Regions from separate parts of the Homo sapiens genome. Here all the other regions are linked to region 2. Evidence: promoter capture Hi-C in 16 types of primary human blood cells and fetal thymus (Javierre and others, 2016). All regions are on one chromosome and are shown on one strand. The core of a region is centred on a gene start or on the middle of the fragment in contact, and the rest is flanking DNA. Distances in the headings are between cores, read along the strand shown.

Region 1 (2,700 bases), core at 103-2,602, 2.3 Mb after region 2:
CAAGCATGGATTTTAGGGTCAAAATATTGGCTCCACTCTTGGTTTCGCTACTTACTTACCTACGTGACTTAGTAACAACATGAGGGAATGGAGAGGCAATGAAGTATGAAGGTTGAGTGTTCAGGCTTGGAAAACTAGAATGCCTAGTTTCCATCCTGGCTTTGCCACCCACTAGTCAGTTAACCTTGGGTAAATTACATAACTTCTCTGAGCCTCCACTTCCACATCTGAAATATGAGTGTAAAAAGAATACTGATTTCATTCAGTAGTTGTAAGGCTAAAATGACTTTATTTATACAAAGAGATTAAAACATTGCCAGCAACTTACAGCCATAAATACCATCAGATTTAGAAGGTTCTTCACAGGATTGTTCTAAGGATTAAATAAGAGAACAGCTACAAAGCACTTAGCACCATTTGCAGTACTTAGAAATCTATCAGAGTACAGCTAGTACCCTTCCTACTGATTCTCTGTATTTTAGTAAAATCTGATGAGAAATCAATTGCAAACATAATTTCTCATCAGATTTCAGATAAAAACCCAATTCCTTCCCTTGGTTCTCTAAATCATGCACATCTGTCCTCCACCTGCTTCTGAAGCTCCAACCTCCTCCCTCACCATATTGCAGCCATAGTAGCCTTTCTCATCCAAATTATGCCAACTTTCTATCTCCTCATGAGATATTTGCACCTGCCGTTCCCAGTAACCTCAGGGCTCAGTGCATGAGTTGAAGCTGCCTTTCTTTATGTTTTTGAGACATGGTCTCACTCTGTCACTCAAGCTGGAGTGCAGTGGCATGACTGTGGCTCACTGCAGCCTTGACCTCCTGGACTCCAGTGTCCCTTCTACTTCAGCCTCTGGAATGGCTGGAACCCGTCATGTGCCATCACATCCAGCGAATTTTTAAATATTTTTGTAGAGATGGGGTCTCCCTATGTTGCCCAGGCTGGTCTCGAACTCGTGGACTCAAGTGATACTCCTGCCTCAGTTTCTCAGTGATGGGATCACAAGTGTGAGTCACCGTGCCTAGCAAAGTTGCCTTCTAAATTCCTTAACAAATGTGAGGTTAGGCATGGTGGCTCACACCTGTAATCCCAGCACTTCGGGAGGCTGGAGGATTACTTGAGCTCAGGAGTTTGAAACCAACCTGGGCAACATAGTGAGACCTCATCTCTACTTAAAAAGAAAAAAAAAGTTTTAGGCCGGGCATGGTGGCTCACGCCTGTAATCCCAGCACTTTGGGAGGCCAAGGCAGGTGGATCACGAGGTCAGGAGATCGAGGCCATCCTGGTCAACATGGTGAAACCTCTTCTCTACTAAAAATACAAAACTTAGCTGGGCATGGTGGTGCACGCCTGTAGTCCCAGCTACTCGGGAGGCTGAGGCAGGAGAATCACTTGAACCAGGGAGTTGCAGGTTGCAGTGAGCCAAGATTGCGCCACTGCACTCCAGCCTGGTGACAGAGTGAGACTCCATCTCAAAAAAAAAAAAAAAGTTTTAAAAGACAAAAAAAAATGTACACATTCCTTGAAAAGGGAAGATAATGTGGACAAGGTGCTTTGAACAGGCAATAGGAACATAACTGGAAGCAAGATTCTTCTGAAGGTGCTGTAATGGCTGAGTGGTTAAGACACAAACTTATCACCTTCAAAAATTAACTCGTCTTATTATCTTTCTTACATTTTCCTTCGCCCTTCCCACACATCCAACAGTTAAACTAGTATCAGGCAGAGTGCAGACCACAGTAAGTATTCATCAAATGAATATCATGAATAAATGAATAGCTGGGGAAAAACTACTCTCATAAAGGGAATACAAATTTGTACAATCCGTTTATGTTTGTTATTTATATTAAGTTCACATGTGCCTGATTTGTAGTAGATCTCTCGTTATCGTTAGCTCAGCACCGCTTCCTTCCTCTGAGAGACAGACTGACTCTTCCATAAATAGACATAGCGGGGACTGTGAAATTCTTATGGGATCCAAGTCCCAGTTGATTTGCCCAGTTGCAATCAAGTATACAACCCCTAATTCCTCATGTCTAGCTCGTTAATTAACCTCCCCTCATTTTTTTTAAGTTTGCATTTGAGAGGGAACTCCCAGACAGTGGTAAACATAGAAATACTTAACCCTTAGGAACTGTCAGCTGCCATGTTCTCCACCTACATCATTAAAGAAGTTCATCTGTAAAGAGAATGAAGCTAACAGGAAAGATGGTCTCCAGGGCTACTAACTTAAAACTTCATCCACTTTCTGACCTTCTCATGGTTTATATATTCAACTTATCCTTCAATCAACATATCCCATATCCTTTCTTTTTTTAATTAAATTGTAAGAGAGAGAAGGTCTCACTATGTTGCCCCCATTGGTCTCAAATTCCTGAGCTCAAGTGATCCTCTCACATCAACCTCCCAAAGCACTAGGATTATAAGTGTGAGCCACCGTACCCAGCCCATACCCCATATCCTTTATATAAATTCATCTTTTTGCTTAAATTAGTTCAAGTAGGGTTTTTGTCAGCAGTAACAGAGCACTGATTAATGCAACATTCTGTAACCACTGCACAAGAGAATCATCTTCTGATTTCTTAAAACCAATGCTAGTACCCCAGTCCAAAAAATGAAATCAGAATCTCCGCAGTGTGGGACCTGGGCATTAGTCATTTCAAAAGCTGCTTAAAAAGGTGATCCTTCCAGATA
Region 2 (2,700 bases), core at 101-2,600:
CTGGGTGACAGAACGAGATTCCATCTCAAAAAACAAAAAAAACAAAAACAGAAGATGAAATGCATGAAAGGAAAGGTTAAAAATGATTCCCATGGGCCAGTTTTAGTAATACTCTCTTCACTCCTTTTGCTGCATGGTACTTGCACCCTTTGAGCTTACTGTTCTGCTTGATTGCATGTCCATGAGGCCGAGAATCTGCCTGTCTTGTTTACCACGAGATCCACAGAATCAAGCCCAAGCCTGGCATGTAGAAGATACTCAAGAAAGATTTGCCGAATAAATAAGAGATACACGAATCAAAAGCATTGCTTTTTGCCCTCAAAAAGTGTTCAACATTTGCTATGGAACATTTTAGCACCATTCCCTTGTGCTAATTACTTTCGTAACTAAAGTTAGAAGCTGATGCTCAGTGCATCTGTGTTTTAGCAAATTGAATTGAATCTGTATATCCCACTCAAAGAAATTTAATTGGAATTGCACATGAAACTGAAGCAACCCACAAATCAGCATCTTGTCTTGCTTGCCTTAAGCCCCAGAAGGTCCTGAAAGCCACTGTTCTATTGTTCATCTCCACCTACACACTTTACTGTATGCCCTTTACTCAATAACCTTCGTGGAGTGTTTCCATAGGTACTATCAAGCCACTAACGATTTCACAACTGGAGCCACTGTTGGTAAATCCAAGTATGTTGCATCAAAACAGTTTCAACCTACTTGTCTAGCTCATAGCCCACACATCTATCCAGAGACTTTAAAACTGTTGTATTTTGCCCCATACCTTCCTGGTGATGGCAGAGTAGAGATGAGAAGCAATTAGGCAGCAGTTGCTTCCCAACAGTCTCTTCCAGTTTGTTCTGCCTCTCATTTGAGTTCTGAATTAGGAGTTGCTCCTTTACAAATGGTTTTAAAGTCAAACAATTACTTGTCCATTACAATCACCTGTCAATTGCTAGAAAAATTAGACTACTGAGGAGGTAGATGGTACAAACACAGGCAGAGGATACAGACATTAGTAAGAGACAAGGAGGCGACTGCACTACAGCAATGTCCTAGGACAAATTCTAACCCTGCCATCTAACCCTGTTTAGAGGCAAATCTAACCCTGCCATAAGTAGAGAGGACAGGGTGGTGGCAGAGGTGGGAAGAGTGTTGTTTTGCCCTTACTTTAAGTGAACCTGGACATGTCCTGACCTTTGCAAACACCACCCCTCCCCCGTAGTTCCCACTTACCTCTGCAGTGGGCTGTGTCCAAGCTGCTGAGGTCCTTGCACAGGTCAAATCTAAGTTCTCTTCCCTTTCAGCCCCCGCTTTGGTGGCTGTTGCTGCTGCGGCTCTGCTGCAGGCTAACCTTGTTTTTGCTCGGGTGGGAGGCTGGCCATGGTGATCTCATTACAGAGCTGCGTACTGGCTCGGACCAGGCACGTGATGAAAAAAGTTTGGGTCTGTGTGGGCTGGAAACAAAACACCCTTCTTTCCAGAGGGCATGTCCTTAAAGCGGAAAGGGAATCTAAGCTCAAGCAGGAACTTGAAAAACGTGCATTTGGCCAAACTCTGGGCTTCCCTCCCCCTGCCCCCTTTTTTTCTTTTAAAAAATTTTCTCCATCATCTGCAACTTAAGAAAATGTCGCTGTCCCATAGGAGGAGGCAGATTCAAGAAAAGATGTGGGTGTCAGATAATGGCAGGTAGTACAAGTTGATAAAAAGGTGACAGAGACCAGAGGATCTCATTTTCTTTTTTTTCATTGCTTCTTTTCCTGTGGAGGGCAGGCAAGGGAGGAGAGATGCATCAGCTATTTCTAGTGAGTCTAGATGCAGGAAAGGCATGCCTGTGGAGGGTAAATTTGCACTGTGATTGAAATAGGGGAACTTAGGATACAGGACCCATGACATGAAGTGAGGAGCACTTTGGAAAAAGAGCTGCTTTTAAATTTCTGAAAACTTTTTAAATAAGCAAATGTGCAAATGATATAAAATACAATAGGGTCAAAAGAATGTACAATGAAAAGTCTTTTTTTAATTTCTCCTCAGTCCCCTTTTTTTCCTCCCAAGAGACAACCTCTGTGACCAGATTTTTGTATATCCTTCCAGAGCTTACCTCTGTAAATAGAAACATGTGTAGGCCTTGTGCTTCTCCTTTAGCAACAGCACCATAGTATGTTTGTTGTGCACCTTGCTTTTTCCACTTAACAATCAAACATGGAGATTGGCTAGGCATGGTGGTGCTCACCTGTAGTCCCAACTATTTGGGAGGCTGAGGTTGGAGGATCACTTGAGCCCAGGTATTTGAGACCAGCCTGGGCAGCACAGGAAGACTCCTTTCTAAAATAAACAAAACTCAGAAACTTGGCTGGGCACGGCGGCTCACATGTATAATCTCAGCACTTTGGAAGACCAAGACGGGAGGATCACTTGAGGCCAGGAGTTCAAGACCAGCCTGGGCAATGTAGCAAAACCCCATTTCTACTACATATACAAAAAATTAGTAGAGCTTACTGGCACATGTCTGTTATCCCAGCTACTGGGGAGGCTGAGGTGGGAGGATGGCTTGAGCCCAGGAGTTGGAGGCTGCAGTGAGCTATGATTGTGCCCTGCACTCCAACCTGAGTGACAGAGTGGGACCCTGTCTCTAAAAAACAAAACAAAATAAAAAATGCCGGGTGCAGTGGCTCATGCCTGTAATCTCAGCAATCTTTGGAAGGC
Region 3 (2,754 bases), core at 159-2,658, 2.4 Mb after region 2:
GGTATTGGCAGAGGTAAGATTCTAACTCAAGCTATCCAGTTCACCTCCACACTAAAATGCCTCTCATATGGATATCAGTGGTGGACATGGGATGATTTTCAGATAATACCCAGACCTGTGTTTATGTTCATTACTATGTTTTTTATGGCTCCTCTGTTTATGGCATATAATATTAGTTTTCTCTCTGTGATTGTGATATAAAGCTTCCTTCTAAAATGAAAAGTGGCAAAAAAGAGAATCCCTAGAAAAAAATATTAAGTAAGAATTATCCTGGCAGTTTATGGATATGACTATGTATTCTATGCTGATTTAAATTATCTGTATGGGTTTTTTCTCTTTTTCTTTTTTTTTTTTGTGACAGAGTCTCGCTTCGTCACCCAGGCTGGAGTACAGTGGCTCAATCTCAGCTCACTGCAACCTCCACCTCCCAGGTTCAAGCAATTCTGCCTCACCCTCCCGAGTAGCTGGGACTACAGGTGCGCACCACTATGCCCAGCTAATTTTTGTATTTTTATTAGGGATGAGGTTTCACCATGTTGGCCAGGCTGGTCTCGAACTCCTGACCTCAGGAGATCCGCCCATCTTGGCCTCCCAAAGTGTTGGGGTTACAGGCATGAGCCACTGAGTCTGGCCTTATCTGTGTAGCCACCAAGTCCGGTCTTATCTGTGTAGCCACCGAGTCTGGCCTTATCTGTGTTATTAATAGTGAAGGAGAAGGAATGGAAAAACTAGAAGTAAGGACATGGCCAACTTCAGGTCGTCTCCTCTCTCCTATGTTGTCAGGAGATTGAGGTGTGTTCATGAATTCTTTCATTCAGTACTTCCCCAGTGCCTAATCTGTTTGCAGCACTCTGCTAAGGTCTCTGCATTTTCAGTGATAGGTAAGAAAATGGTCCCTGACCTTGAGGAGCTTTCACATGCATGGTTCTACTCCAGAGAGGGCATGTTATGTTTTATTTCATGGGCAAACTCAGATTGATTGCTGGTGGCTTCCTGGAGCTCAGTATTTCATGAGGATTCTGAAGCTGTCTGTGGACTTAGTGGAAAATAGAGTCATTACCAATTAGCAATGTCTGTCCTGGCATGGGAGGAAGAAGTAGCAGTATTTGGGTTTTATTCTGGGGCCAAGAAAACATCATAGAGTGCATTTACACAAACCTGGATGGCATAGCCTACTACACACCTAGGCTATATGGTATATAGCCTATTGCTCCTGGGCTGCAAACCTGTACGGCATGTTCTTGTACTGAATACTGTAGGCAATTGCAACACAGTGGGAAGTATTTGTGTATCTAAACATAGAAAAGGTACAGTAAAAATATGATATTATAATCTTATGGGAACACCATCATATATATGATCCACTGTTGACTGAAGCATCATTATGAGGCAAATGACTGTAAATTTTTTTAATAGGAACAACCTAAATCTCCCTTTTATTTATTTTTATATTTATATATCTATATAATATTTTCTTTGTAGTAATATATGTATACATATGTGTATATATATGTATATGTGTGTGCAGTATGTTTGTGTGTGTGTACGTATACTTATATAGCCTCTGGCTGGAGCGCCATACGGACATGGAAAATATTTCCTGGCCTCTTGATGTTCATGAAACACAAAGGTGACAATTACCTAATCTTTCTAGCTTGCCAGAGTTGTGTTCTTCTTGAGGAAGGAAAAAGCAGCCAAACTGGGAAAAAAATATGTTTGGCACCTTTCAAAAAGGTACAAAACCAGGTGTGGTCTAGAAGAAAAGGCATAGAATTGGGAGTCAAGGTATCCTGTTTCTACCCTACCTCTGCCACTAGCTGACCATGTGACCTTGAATAAAAGTGTTTACTTCTCCATAACACAGTGTCCTCAGAAACACAGCAAAAATTATACCTGCTGAATTGAATTTGCAGGATAGTTGTGATTGAGAAAATCAATGTGAAAGATCTATAGAACTGAGATATTAGTGTAATAATAATAAACCTTCCTTTTTTTGGTAGGAGAATTGTTGGAGTATTTAATTCATCCTCTCTATTGAAAACAGGCCACAGACTAGCGAATGTTAAACGAAAGTATGGGAGGCCATTGTTTAAGACTAAGCTCCTGTACTAGGCCCCTAAAAACCAGACCAAATCAAAATGGAGTCACTCATGCTAAATGCCACTCTCTACCTGAGTCAGCATAATAAGCAAATCCTCTCTGCCTTAATCCTTACAAAAAAGTAACCTGAAGTAACTTGATGTTAACTAATCATTTATTTTTCTATTGTTGTGTTTTCTTATTCCCACCTTACAAAACCCACAGTTTTGCTATTGCCCAGTGGGAGCTTTCATTCTATTGTATAGAAAGGAGGTGCTTCAATTCATAAATCACAAATTAAGGACAATTAATTCTATAAATTTATTGTAATTTTGTCTTTTGACATGTCTTTGCTGGCTACTGTGTTAAGTATTCTACATGCTGTAGTTATATAATCAAAATAAACATTGAGGACAGGCACTATTGTAAATTGTCACCCTTACAAGGTAAGGAAACTGAGGCTCGGAGAGGTTAAGGAACATGCTATTGTTTATATAGCTCATAAGTGGCAGATGACAGATTGAAACCCAGAACTCAAGCTTACCCACTACACTAGCCTAATATTTCACTTCAGTAAAAAGTCTTAATATTTCATTTCTTTCCAGAAAAATCAAACAGATAATGACAATGCAAGTATTTTGCTTACAGAGAAACAGGGTTTAAGCTGTAAATGTC

Evidence for each region. The method cuts DNA at HindIII sites, captures the fragments that hold promoters and counts their contacts. A CHiCAGO score of 5 or more calls a contact.
Region 1: a fragment that was not itself captured here is called in contact with the fragment with the promoter of FAXDC2 in region 2 in 1 of 17 cell types (total CD4 T cells); the score reaches 5.4 in total CD4 T cells.
Region 3: a contact is called between a fragment that was not itself captured here and the fragment with the promoter of FAXDC2 in region 2, in 1 of 17 cell types (neutrophils). The highest score is 7.1, in neutrophils.

What each region holds. Positions count from the first base shown.
Region 1 is chr5:157,133,025-157,135,724 of GRCh38, forward strand. No RefSeq gene overlaps it. Among named protein-coding and RNA genes, the nearest start is that of MED7, 8.5 kb to the right of the region's middle. The HindIII fragment of the contact is 3,920 bases long and covers 1-2,700 here.
Region 2 is chr5:154,849,253-154,851,952 of GRCh38, forward strand. FAXDC2 (fatty acid hydroxylase domain containing 2) reads right to left here and starts at 1,351. Exons shown (of 9, transcript NM_032385.5): 1 at 1,231-1,351. The HindIII fragment of the contact is 21,500 bases long and covers 1-2,700 here.
Region 3 is chr5:157,276,698-157,279,451 of GRCh38, forward strand. All of the region lies in intron 1 of CYFIP2 (cytoplasmic FMR1 interacting protein 2), which reads left to right. Among named protein-coding and RNA genes, the nearest start is that of CYFIP2, 12 kb to the left of the region's middle. The HindIII fragment of the contact is 2,415 bases long and covers 202-2,616 here.